4 separate regions of the Homo sapiens genome follow, and regions 2, 3 and 4 are each linked to region 1. The links are contacts of gene promoters, found by promoter capture Hi-C in blood cells and fetal thymus (Javierre and others, 2016). All regions are on one chromosome and are shown on one strand. The core of a region is centred on a gene start or on the middle of the fragment in contact, and the rest is flanking DNA. Distances in the headings are between cores, read along the strand shown. Region 1 holds the start of STRAP (serine/threonine kinase receptor associated protein). Region 2 overlaps RERG (RAS like estrogen regulated growth inhibitor). Region 3 holds the start of RERG (RAS like estrogen regulated growth inhibitor). Region 4 overlaps LOC105369673 (a long non-coding RNA gene).

Region 1 (3,210 bases), core at 188-2,687:
TCTGGCACTAGAGTACAAATGACAAAGCCATAACCATTGCCATTAAGGAGTTCATAAATGTGTGAGTGGTGCGTATGTGTGAGACAAAAGGGAGAGGATGGCACAAAGGAGGAGTCGAACAAGATAAAATGAAAAACATATATAGTAAGTGCTTTACCGTAAGTGAATGAACGAGAGTACTAAGGAAAAAGAATGGAGACGTATTTCAAGTTCTCACGTTGTTTGACTCGAATCTTGTAGACGGTGTTTGCTGCAAAAAGATGAAGAAAACATTCACAGACATTTATGTTGATTACATATTTATTGCTATGTGCCCAGACGTTTTGACCTTGGGGATAAAGTAGCAAAGAAAACACAAAAATCTCTGTTGTATTGGGTTTACATTCTATCAATAAAGATACAACTTGCCCAGAGAAAAGCCCTCTCCTGGTTAGGAAACAGTATCAACAATTAACAGCTCTGGTGGTTTCACAGAGCCACAGTGGGCTGCCTGCTGCAGACAATATCAGAGTTTGTTTATATTTAAATATTATTTTAATATTTCTATTTTTGTCCATGTATTATAATGCACATCTATGTAATTTGCAAATCATCACTCATATATACATCATATCAAAAGGTGTAAAAGTTTTTGATAGAATTCAGCATTCATTCGCTTATAAAATGAGTGAAGGCTCACTTTACGGATGAGAGTATTTCATCAAAAAAATTGGGGATCTACGACTCTAGAGTTCTCCGAAGTCCACCAAGGAAAAAGTAACTTGAATTTAATCGCATTTAAAACTATATAGTATCCACTCCTAAAACATTAGCAACATAGGAAAACTTACACAGCGGAAGAAATGACTGGGGATTTTTTTTTTTTTTTTAATACATGGTCTCGCTCTGTTGCCCAGGCTGGAGTGCGGTGGCGCGAGCACCGCTTACTGCGGTGTCGACCTCTCGGGCTCGAGTTATCCTCCCACCTCAGCCTTCCAAGTAGGTGGGACCACAGGCACCACCACTCCAAGCCCGTATATGGTTTTTAAATAAGACAAATTGCAAAAAACGTTGCCAGACAGCGTTCGCTGGTTTGGGCCGTCACTGGGTATGGCTCGTGTCCGTCTAGATATTCAGAGGCCGAGCACAGTCCTCAGTAGGGCTGCTCGGCAGGTACACAGCTGACGCTGGTCCTTGGACTTATGGGAGTGGGAACAACTTTCAACTCGGCCGCGGACCAGGAAGGCGTTCTGACCCGCTAGAGCTCGGGGACAGGGACCCCATCCCGGTGCCTAGAGCGTCTCCCTTAGTCGGCGTGGGCCAGCGCCAGTTACCTCACGAGCACTGAACTAGCGCCTGCGCCCTTCTATACTTCTCGCTCTTTCTTCAAGTCACTTCTACCCGGCGAGCCCGCCCTCCCGCCAATCGTCATTTCCGGCGGGTGCTCTGCGTCATTTACGTCGTCACTTCCTGCCGATGCCGGTGTGGACGCTGTGAATCGTGGCTGGCCCGGTTCTCCGCTTCTCCCCATCCCCTACTTTCCTCCCTCCCTCCCTTTCCCTCCCTCGTCGACTGTTGCTTGCTGGTCGCAGACTCCCTGACCCCTCCCTCACCCCTCCCTAACCTCGGTGCCACCGGATTGCCCTTCTTTTCCTGTTGCCCAGCCCAGCCCTAGTGTCAGGGCGGGGGCCTGGAGCAGCCCGAGGCACTGCAGCAGAAGAGAGAAAAGACAACGACGACCCTCAGCTCGCCAGTCCGGTCGCTGGCTTCGCCGCCGCCATGGCAATGAGACAGACGCCGCTCACCTGCTCTGGCCACACGCGACCCGTGGTTGATTTGGCCTTCAGTGGCATCACGCCTTATGGGTATTTCTTAATCAGCGCTTGCAAAGGTGAGCAAGGCCGCAATCCTGGTCCTCGACGGCTGGGACTGGGCTGAAAGGGATCGGGACCCGCACGCTCCAGTGCCGAAGCGGTGGTGTGGTGAGGGGGGAGGGGGCGATATTAACATCTGAGATGAGAGCCAACACTGGTCCGGTGGAGAAAGGAGTGTGTTAGGGAATCCGCAGCTGGAGCCGAGAGGACGCTTTTGTAGAAACTATTACCTCCAACTAAGACCTCTCTCCTTATTTTATTTTTATTGCTATTTTTGAAGGAGCTGGTCAGCATTTGCCTAGACTCTCGGGACAACACGGTAAATAGCTTTCAAGGATTTGGGGAAAGGAGAAATTAGGCCAGGCCGTGCAATACCTTACAAAGACGTTCGCTCTTGTCTCACTGGATATTCCTTTGTGGTATTAGCCTCATTTTTCAAATGGGAAACTGAGATTCAGGCTAAGATGTCTGTCCAAAATAAGACTAAAATCTAGATTGTTTTGACGCAGATCAGTATTCCCAGCCAATTACAGATGCTTTTCAGAGAGAATGATCTGTTCAGCTCTTCAGTTAATTTATTACTGCACATTCCTTAGTGCCTTCAGTGGGTGGTGGTAGTTAAATAGCTGAAACAATTTTTCCACTTTGTCATTGAACATCATTGTATATTTACATTTGAATCTTAGACTTTAAGTAATCTGAACTTATAAATTACATGTTTTAAAAAATATTTTCTAGATGGTAAACCTATGCTACGCCAGGGAGATACAGGAGACTGGATTGGAACATTTTTGGGTCATAAAGGTGCTGTTTGGGGTGCAACACTGAATAAGGATGCCACCAAAGCAGCTACAGCAGCTGCAGATTTCACAGCGTAAGTGTAGCCAAGATGGCTAACTTTGGTGTTCTCTGTAGCTTGTGTCCTGAAATAATCAAAAACTTCAGTGTCAGATATTCATAAAATTCTGACTCACTGGCTGCCATACAGAACGCATGTTTGATCCCACCAAAATTCCATCGTGGTCCATCGTGGTCCTGTGTGCTTCTTTGTCTTCAGTGGTTCTCAAAATTTTCAGAGGCCTAAATGACTTATTCCGTATATTTTGATTGAGACTCAGGAATCTGCATTAACAAACGCACCAGATAATGAATGTTGATCTCCTTTACGAATGCTGCTCTGTGTGTACTCCTTAGTGATATCCTACATTGATGGCCCTAGGTTTTTATTTCAATCCCGGTTTTTGTTAACTGGCTTTAGGCATCATTAAAACTCATTGTGTCAAAAACAAACAAACAAAAAAACAACAAAAAAACAAAACTCAGCTGCTCGTCATTTCCTAAGTTTTTAAAGGTTGAA
Region 2 (3,210 bases), core at 455-2,954, 730 kb before region 1:
GAATGTGACCTTATTTAAAAATAAGATCTTTGTTGATGATCAAGCTAAGATGATTTCATTGGAGTAAGCCCTAAGTGATTAAATATGACTATGTTCTTATGAAATGGGGAAATTTGGACACAGAGACAGACACACACAGAGAGATGATATGGAAACATAAGGAGAACACCATCTGCAAGCCAAGGACGGCCTGAGGTTACCAGAAGCTAGGACAGAGGCAGGGAACAGATCCTCCCTTACAGACTTTGGAAGGAACCAATCCTTCTGACGCCTTGATTTTGGAGTTCTAGCCTCCAGAAGCATGAGGCAGTAAATTTCTGTTGTTTAAGCCCCCCAGCTTGTGGTACTTTGTTGAGGCAGTGCTAGCAAACTAGTACAGTTATATATTCTGAATCCTTGTCTTTTGGCTTGCCATTTAGCCCCCGAGTCTCCCTGGCAATCAATAAAGCACAGAAGCTTTGTTCAGATTGCCAACCACCCGGTTCAGTTCTGGACAACCTCATACTGCCATCCACGTAAGGCAAGTTCCTTTTAAAGTTTGCCAGACCAAAGCAATTAAGAGGGCAAATCTGTTGGAAAAACTCACATATTGCATTATGAAGCCAAATATAAATTCTACTTTGATTATTGTTCCTTATGAAGGAGAGCAGTGTCTCTAATAATCAGAAAAGAATCAGGGATTGATTGTATTTCATTTTCTTCGAGGAAAATTTGGCCAAATAGCTAAAGTAACCTGATTAATGAGAAATTTGCAGAATGGGAAAAACACTGCAATTATAGGCAGCAACCATGGACATCCGCTGATGGCCAAAGAACATAGCCAGTCTTCTGGTGCGTACATTATGTGGCAGCTCGTTGGTCTCCTGCCAAATAGGACAATCAATGTAGGTTGAAATTTGTCTCAATCTCACTCGGCAATCATATTCATAAACACTGCCTCTGTGTCTTATTTAGGTGAGACAGCAACTTAAAGACTATTATGTAAACAGAATTTTCATACCTAGAATTTTAAAAATGTATTAAACTTTAAAAGGGTCTTTCCTAATATTTGATGGAGGAGCTTCAGAATAGTTAATTTAAATGAAATTGTAGTATTATATATTTTCATTTTTTAAAATGTTAAGTTGCTAAGTGTGAAGGCTTTAGACACTGACACCTCATATTGATTCTTGCTTTACAAAGAGACTTGGAAAAGAAACCAGTGTATGTATAAAATGATTAATTGGGATAAGAAACTCAGCTAAGAGATATTCAGACTGGAAAAAACTAAATAAAGAATATAAAACAAGCAATTAAAAAAAGGAAAAAGCAGGCATGGTGTTGAAGTATATGAAGTAATCTAACACCACTGTGTTTTTTCATCTTCATTTTCCAGTGTCTATGCTGCATTGTAACTTTTGGAAAAACATGCACACACCTGGTGCCACCTGGGTAGGTGTGACCAGAACCTGCCTGTTGGAAAATAAAGGATTAAAAAAATGAAATGAGAGAAAGTGACACATAAAAGGACAACTTAAGGTTTCCGCAAAGCAAATACATAACCAAGCTGATCAACCCTCCAGCATAGTCCTTCTGAGCTGTGTTTCCACAGGAAAATGAGGGTAGAGGCAATCACAAAAGTCTTGGCTCTCATCCACCCCTGTGGCCTGCTGACACAGGCCCAGCTTGCCAGAGCACTGGGGTCACAATGAAGTTGCTGCCAGTAGAGCTGCTTTCATTAAAATTGAGTAAGAAGAACAGGTAATGGGGTTGGGCAGAAACTAGGACCTGAAAGTGGTTGGGATTGGGGGACTCCTGTCTTCTAATTGGGAAGGCTGGGTAGGGCTTCTTGGTAGTACCTGACAATTATCTTGTTCTAGCATTTACAGCCTTTCTCTACTCCTGGAGTCACTGCAGGGCCCCCAGGGGACTCTGAAAACAGCCAGTTGTTAAGCAAGGGTATTCTCCACTAGGGCTACCATGAAGTTTATATTATAGAGCTGGATCTTTCACCCCTTTTGTGCTGTAAACCATTTGTGCACAGCCTTTGAACTATTTCTCATAATAATACTTTTTAAATATATATAAAATATATGTCATTACAAATAAAATCAACTATGATGAAATATGGCACATGTATACATATGTAACTAACCTGCACAAAGTGCACATGTACCCTAAAACTTAAAGTATAATAAAAAAATATATATATATATTTATAAATATTGATATACTGTTAGAAAAACATTTTTTAAAATAAATAGGTGATATAGTAATTACATTCTTTATTAATATGTTCAATATAATCTGGTCTTGAGCTTATTAATTATGATTTCACATTAATGATGACGAAAAATAACATTTTGAGATATCAGCAACAACTGATACGAATGGAAATATCCATCATTTCTATTAGGGACAAAGTCACAGGTATTGCTAACACTGTGATTTGTTTCTACATTCATCATGGAAGGCAGTGCCAAATGTCATTTAAGGGTGCATGAAAATGTAGATGAAATGTTTTCCCATACAAGTTCACAGACCCCCTGAAATCTACCTGTGGACCCTTTGCTGGATCTGGAGTTCAGGTTAAGAACCCTGCCATACAGGCTTACCCATCCTAATACGGAAGTTTACCACAAATACCACATCAGCTTTCATGCAATTGTATGATAATTACCAACTTTTAAAACAGTGTCACTTTAATCTCTATCTCTCTGATGATTCAGAAATCACTTCAAAATTTTCACAAGAAGTAACATTGTGAGTATCAAAAAATTTGCCCTGTAGACTTGGGGAATGCTTGTTAATGAAATTACTAGGTTCAGAAAATCTCTAATAGTTGTTAGTATTTTCTTTCTAAACAAGAATGTGCAACAAATGATGCAAGAGCAGAATGGTATTATCATTGCTTTGCGAGTCCTCAGGAGAAAGAAATAGAGTGATCAATATGATCAATAAAACAAGGCAGTTTAAGCTTAAGTCAGACCCTGAAGTCAGGCGCATTTTCGTGCAAATCTCAACCCTACTACTCACATTTGACAAGTTATTTACTTCTCTAAACCTCTAAGCCTGTATCTGAGCTACAAAATAGGGATAAAAATAGTGCCTATCTCATAGAGATATTGAGGGGATTAAACGAGGTAATACATGATAACATACTAACTCAGGCTCTGTTGTTAGAGGATCCATTGCCCCTCTTGCAAAATGGGAAAATGGAAACCATCTTCA
Region 3 (3,210 bases), core at 270-2,769, 660 kb before region 1:
ATGTTATCTAAATGTGTTAAATGTTCCTGCCAGATTTTTCCATCTATAAATTTTTACAAAGAGCTTCTTGAGAGAGAAATTAAAAAGTGAAAATCCGCCTGAAAAAGTATTTCTACAAAGACATTATCATGTAATTGTTTTCTTCCTTAGGTATTTAAGCTATCATCCTGTACCTAATAAGGTTTTGTATTTGCTGATTTTCAAAGTGCCAGAGCTTCCTCTGAAGGAAGGAAAAATCAACATTAACATTAGCTATTGTTTACTTCATCCTCAATAATGACAAAGTGTCTAAGTAATCATTATTAGCAAAAACCAGAAGCTTAAACATCTGCAATTTGTCCAGTCCCATATTTTTGGCTAAAGATAAAAAGATTTCCTTATTTGTCACTTTAGATGCATTCATTAAGAAAAGGCCCTATGTTTTTAAGGTTCAGGGCTTCATCACAGAAACATAATATGTGGAGATATATTAACTATTTAAATTATAAATGAGAAGAGGTGCTGGCAAGTATTTCTTTGAAACATTGAACACGCAAGTGTCTGCAGCTAGTATAAACAATAATTTTGTTTCATGCAAAACTGTTCATATACATGGATATAAAATGCAAGTAATTATCTGTCTGATTAATGTTTCATGAAAGTAGCCATCAAATGTGATTTTAAAAAAATGACAAGTCACATTTTTTAGTAACTCCCAAATGGCCCCAGAGGCATAGGAATTTCACATAAGAAAGAGAAATTGTGTGGGCTATTTTTTCCATTTATAACCTAATAAAGATACAGCTGGTTATTGTCAACCTAATTTTATGTTTAGAAAAATCACTTAAAGGAAGACACAAAACTGACAGGAGTTCTTCAACATTTTATTTCTCACATGAAAATGTGAAAAGTTACATTTGACAAGATAGAAAACAAAAATAAATATGTAAATTGTTGTAATAAGTAAACTGTTGCCAAGTTTCTGATGTTCCAAATAATTCATAATCTGAGAGCTTCCATACGTGGATCTAAGAAAATCCATTTGTCCTAATGTTCTGCTGAAATATTCTGAGTAGGGCTGAAATTTGCCATTCACTTTTTATGTGGATGGTGCTTATTAGGACAAAAACATCTCAGCTGCTATCACTCTAAAGGTAAAATCATACCTATTTAGTTTGAAGGTGTAGGTTTTTTTTTCCCTAAACATAAATTAAAGGAAAAAGGAAAAACGCTAGCTAAAATCCTGTATTATTAGTGATGCATTCATTGATTTATTCCACACTTTCACGCTATGCACATACAAATAAAAGTAGTTCCCTTCGAAGAGCTTACACTCTGTTAGACCTATGATATTTAGATAACTGTAACCTTATTTACTTACTTATTTAAAGAAAGTTTTCATTCCTAATAAATCATTCTCAAGGCTATATTTATCAAGGTTCATGCTTTCTACTTCCTCTTGGGGGTGGGGCAAGCAAGCGTCTTTATAAGGTAATCATGCTTGGAACTTCTGTTTGCATGCGCTCATCAAAATCAAGTGTAGCTATTTAGGGAAGCAAAGACCCTAGTCTAGGCCTGGAAATGAGATTCTCTTCTTTTTTGGCCTCCCCTTCTCTGGTTCTGAAATCAAGTTTTCCTGGTCTCATTACTAGGAATTCTTCCTCTTCTTATCACTACGCAGTACCCACAGCAAACCAGGATAATTGTATAAGCCCCTTGGCTATTTAATGTTGCTCTGAACTCAACAGGTATCTTGCAAGAATAAACAAATCCATTGTGGACTGCAAGTCACTTGCTTTCAGGCTAGGGAGAAAATGCAGCCTTAAGTCAAAAGGGCATTTTCCCTCTCAGCTAGGAGAGCCCTGTCAAGATAGGCTGCTGGTGTTCACATCTCCCTCGCAGCGAACCCCAAAGCCGCCCTGGGAGGAGAACCCGGTGACCAAGAGGACCGACTCAGAGGCCGAGCGCGCTCAGGGCTCGGAATGGGTCTGCAGGAAGTCGTCCCGAAAGAGCTGCCTGGACACGTGCGTGACACTCACCTGTTCACACTCTCCAGGCCAGGAGAGCTACGGTCCTCTGCAAGTTCGGAATGGGTCCCCCAAGATCGCGAAGCCCTCCCACACTGCGCAGCCCAGGCTTCAGGTTGCGTTTGCGAGTTGCTGGGCTGCGGTCGTGGGTGGGACTCGCCGCAGAAGCAAGTGCCAGTGGCCCGGCGGGGGTCTCCTCACTCGCGCTCGCTCCGACTAGCGGCGGAGGGACTGCGGCAGGACGCGAGCTGAGCCCGGCCAAGGCCGCTGCGCTCAGCGGCCAGGATGCTGCAGTGCGGCGCTTCGGCGCCCCCTACTGGGGGCAGGGGCAGGCTCCTCCCGCCGCGCTGCCTCCCAGGCTTGCGAGCTTGGGTCTTTAACGTGCTGCACCCAAGACGGGCTTCCCTTTTTCACTGGTTATTTCCAAGCCTCCAGGCTCCCACCGAAGGGCGGCTTTCCTCGGTCAAAACCTTGCCTAAGAAAGCATCACTACGTGGTGTTTTCTATTCCTTATTTCAAATGATCCTCGCAATATCTCTTTGAAGTATCTTTAATTATCTCCATGATACCCAAGAGGAAACTGAAGGAGAAGGTAACGCAAGGCTAGTAAATGGCTGGAATGAAATCCAGACTGGATTGGGAACTGAGAGATGCTAGGAAAAACAAACAAGGAATTCAATTGAAATTCTATTCATATATTTGAGAAAGTTCCAAAAGCTTCTCGTCCTCCTTACAGGATCAGCATTTATAGGATTTGCATTGGAGTCATACTCCATTATGCTCAGACCCTAACAAAGACAATTAATATGCGAGCTGTGCTGGACCTGCTTTCATATCCCTCATCTGATTTGATTTTTACACCCTCTCTTCATGTAAGAACTAGTATTATAATTACTAGCCTTTCACAGATGAGGAGGTGAGCTTCAGAGAGGCTAAATGATCTCCCAAAAACTGAAACATCTGAGCAAAGAAGCAGGAGGCACTTATGTTATTGTTTTTCCCTTATAAATCTGGGTATTCTTACCAAGATACCAAACGGCTTCCAGAAAACCAGTGTTATATAGAACAGACAGGGGCCTAGGGCAAACTGAACGATCTGTAGAATGTCATCAATGGGAAGGGAGGTAACCATGGAGGCAATTTCCAGAGTCCAGACTGACCTGGAAGGTCACTGCAGCCACGAGTGAATGGCTGAATGGAACAG
Region 4 (3,210 bases), core at 466-2,965, 610 kb before region 1:
AGGTTTAACTGACTCACAGTTTCACAGGCTATACAGAAGGCATGGCTGGGGAGGCCTCAGGAAACTTACAATCACAGCTGCAAGCGAAGGGGAAGCAGGCACATCTTCATATGGCAGCAAGAGACAGAGAGAGTGAAGCGGGAAGTGCTACACACTTTTAAACAACTAGATCACATGAGAACTCTATCACAAAAACAGCAAGGGGGAGGCCCCCCCGCCATGATCCAATCACCTCCCACCAAGCTCCTCCTCCAACACATGGGGATTACAATTCAACATGAAGAATTGGGTTGGGACACACAGAGCCAAACCATATCAGACAGTCAATTGAAATTTGACTTAAAAATCAGTAAACTACCTAGATAAGAGATTATAAATAACTTCCATAACAATTTGGTAATAAACTCCTGATAAGTCCTATATTTTTAAAAAATCCAGCTAAACTAAAACTAAACAAAAATGCTAATAATAGAGAGGCTTTCAAGTTCAGAAGAGTTAACGCTAGTTTAATTCCTCATCTTTATTCCCCAGAGTCTTGCTCTGTCACCCAGGCTGGAGTGGCATGCTGGGTTCACTGCAGCCTCTGCCTCCTGGGTTCAAGCAATTTGCCTGCCTTGGCCTCCCGAGTAGCTGGGATTACAGGCGCTGTGCACCATCACACCTGACTAATTTTTGTATTTTTAGTAGAGAGAGGGTTTCACCATGTTAGCCAGGCTGGTCTTGAACTCCTGACCTCAGATGATCCACCCGCCTCAGCCTCCCAGAGTGCTGAGATTACAGGTGGGAGGCACCGCGCCTGGACTCCTCATCTCTTTTCTTACCTTAAAGAAGTTAACTAACTTTTTGTCTCAATTACTTAATCTGTTAATTAGTCAATAATACCTTTTTCACAATATTATTGCTATACATGGAAAACAGCAGTTACATTTCTAGTACATGGTACTTTTTCAATAAATAGCAGCTATCATTAAAGCTCACAAAATCAAGTCATTCCCTAAGGTCACTAGCTATGCCAATTGATTCTTCTTGGGGCAATTGATTCTTCTTTTACGTAATAAGTGGATTAGACAAAATGACTCTTTAATATTCTATAACTACATAAGACAAAAGTTGTCCCTATAAACCAGCATCTCATACAAGTGGAGTTGCAGAGAAAGAAAATAATACTTGAGTTCTAGTCCTAACTCCACCACTGCCCACCAGGTCAACAGAGAAACCACAGATCCCTTCTGTGTAGAATTACAGGGTTGAGTGAATATGATCTCTGATAGTCTCTGATGCTGTTGGTACCAGACAAAAATGTCTGATACTTTTGGTCATGGTGGGCAGACAACATGTGAAAGCAGAAGTGAGTTCAAAGCTGGAAGAGTTCACCATATTTCAGGATCAACTGCTGAGACTTGGATGTCTGGCACCATTTTGATCAAAGGCTCAAACCTGTGCCTCTTGACTCTGGTGTCCAGTGCTGGGAAGTCTATTTGAGACACAGTTTTGCTTCCCTTGCTCTAGGATAAAAGGGAAGTTATAGGCTTGTATTAATTAAACGTCCGTAAAGTGTGGATGAGTGAGGCACATATACAATGAAAGTAAAAAGGGATGTAACCAACCTAAGGAAGGAGTTCTAAATTCCATCACCACACACTAGGCCTATATGAAGAGATAACACAATAATTATAGAAAAGGGATTATAAGCACCAGGACCTGAAAATCACCCCCCTCCTTTTTTTTTTTTTAATGGAGATAGAGTCTTGCTATGTCACCCAGGCTGGAGTGCAGTGGCATGATCTCGGCTCACCGCAATCTCCGCCTCCTGGGTTCAAGCAATTCTCCTACCTCAGCCTCCCGAGTAGCTGGGATTACAGGTGCCACACCCTGCTAATTTTTTGGGTTTTTTTTGTATTTTAGTATCACCATGTTGCCCAGGCTGGGCTCGAACTCCTGAGCTCAGGCAATCCGCCCGCCTCGGCCTCCCAAAGTGCTGGGAAAATCCCCTTTGAATGTCAGGGACAGGTTACCTAGGAGAAAGGCACAGCATTGCAAACATAAAATTAAGCAGTTAATTTCAGAGGAAAAGACTGAGTTTTAGAAAGCCCCTGTTCACTGGAAACAAAAAATGTGACCATACAAAAGAGCCTATAGCATCATTTCCAGTTTAGTCTAGTTAGTAGGGAGGGAATCATGATGTGTTGTGTGTGTGGTCTGGGCCTCAAGCCATTGGGAAATGCTTAGAAGAATTTGATCTACTATGTTTGTAAGTCTGATTTACTTGATTTACAATTTCTACAATTTCAGTACTTAGCAAGATGTTGTTAGATCTGTATTTGAGTGTTTAAAATAAAATCTGTATATATCTTAGTCAATTAAACATTTGAGATAATACAGATGTATTAAAGTTGTCATTGTAGTTTAACATATCCAAGGCAATTTTATTAAATACATAAAATGGTGTTGTTTGAAAAAGAATTTGATCTCACATATCAAATTCAGAAAAGCATTTTTTCAAAGTTACTAAATGTAAAAATAAAATAAGATTTATAATTCAAACTTAAAGTCTTGAAAATTTTTAATTTAAAAATTGTACCTTTAATCAAAGGAATATTGATTAAAATCCAAGTTTGGGATAGAATTCCTGTTCCTGAACAAAATCCCCACTGATATTATTCCTTTCAGCATTTGTCTTCCTGTAGTCTGGCTACCCCAGGCAAAGTGCAGCAGGAGGCAGAAGAATCCCATCATAAGTAGGTAGGCACAAATCTTTCACGTGTTTCTGCCCATGCCTGCATCTGTAGTGCCACCTAGTGTCAGAGAGGGATAATAACATTTTTAGAAGTCAAGGGTGGAGCATGAAACCCATTTCAATTCTCAATTTTTTCTTAAATTCTGAATGTGTGAAACTTTCCAAAATCGTGGTGTCTAAGCCTTTTTTCTCTCTGCTGTCTCATGGCATTTTGTGTTTTCTTGTTTATATTCCCATAGCACATTCTATTCATATCATTGAGTATATTTCTTAGCTTTGGGTTTAGTAAAACCTCTGCCTTCATGCAGCTTGTGCACTAGTAAGATTTCCACTTCTGTCATACTATTTATCACAGCTGGTTCATATCAGCATCATTTATATATGTCCACCTCTTTTATTGCCTGGGAGCTGTTTTCTCAATAGTGCCTCATTACTAAAGAGGGCCTTGCCTTGTGTTCAATGAATACATATGG

What was found. Contacts are between HindIII fragments. The CHiCAGO score rates a contact against its expected background, and 5 or more counts as called.
Region 2: a contact is called between a fragment that was not itself captured here and the fragment with the promoter of STRAP in region 1, in 1 of 17 cell types (naive CD8 T cells). The highest score is 5.8, in naive CD8 T cells.
Region 3: a contact is called between a fragment that was not itself captured here and the fragment with the promoter of STRAP in region 1, in 1 of 17 cell types (non-activated CD4 T cells). The highest score is 5.5, in non-activated CD4 T cells.
Region 4: a fragment that was not itself captured here is called in contact with the fragment with the promoter of STRAP in region 1 in 1 of 17 cell types (total CD4 T cells); the score reaches 5.3 in total CD4 T cells.

What each region holds. Positions count from the first base shown.
Region 1 is chr12:15,880,950-15,884,159 of GRCh38, forward strand. It overlaps STRAP (serine/threonine kinase receptor associated protein), which reads left to right and starts at 1,438. Exons shown (of 10, transcript NM_007178.4): 1 at 1,438-1,870; 2 at 2,592-2,727. The coding sequence starts at 1,759. It overlaps LOC102724146 (a long non-coding RNA gene), which reads right to left and starts at 1,349. Exons shown (of 6, transcript XR_007063230.1): 1 at 831-1,349; 2 at 158-250. RefSeq lists enhancers at 856-1,085, 1,396-1,515. The HindIII fragment of the contact is 32,342 bases long and covers 1-3,210 here.
Region 2 is chr12:15,153,821-15,157,030 of GRCh38, forward strand. All of the region lies in intron 2 of RERG (RAS like estrogen regulated growth inhibitor), which reads right to left. RERG-AS1 (RERG antisense RNA 1) reads left to right here. Exons shown (of 3, transcript NR_046559.1): 2 at 420-520; 3 at 1,376-1,463. Among named protein-coding and RNA genes, the nearest start is that of RERG-AS1, 3.5 kb to the left of the region's middle. The HindIII fragment of the contact is 2,500 bases long and covers 455-2,954 here.
Region 3 is chr12:15,219,177-15,222,386 of GRCh38, forward strand. It overlaps RERG (RAS like estrogen regulated growth inhibitor), which reads right to left and starts at 2,241. Exons shown (of 5, transcript NM_032918.3): 1 at 2,019-2,241. LOC124902886 reads left to right here and starts at 1,492. Exons shown (of 1, transcript XM_047429948.1): 1 at 1,492-2,802. The coding sequence starts at 2,069. The coding sequence ends at 2,386. The HindIII fragment of the contact is 2,404 bases long and covers 318-2,721 here.
Region 4 is chr12:15,266,348-15,269,557 of GRCh38, forward strand. LOC105369673 (a long non-coding RNA gene) reads right to left here. Exons shown (of 3, transcript XR_007063224.1): 3 at 2,592-2,795. Among named protein-coding and RNA genes, the nearest start is that of RERG, 47 kb to the left of the region's middle. The HindIII fragment of the contact is 9,263 bases long and covers 1-3,210 here.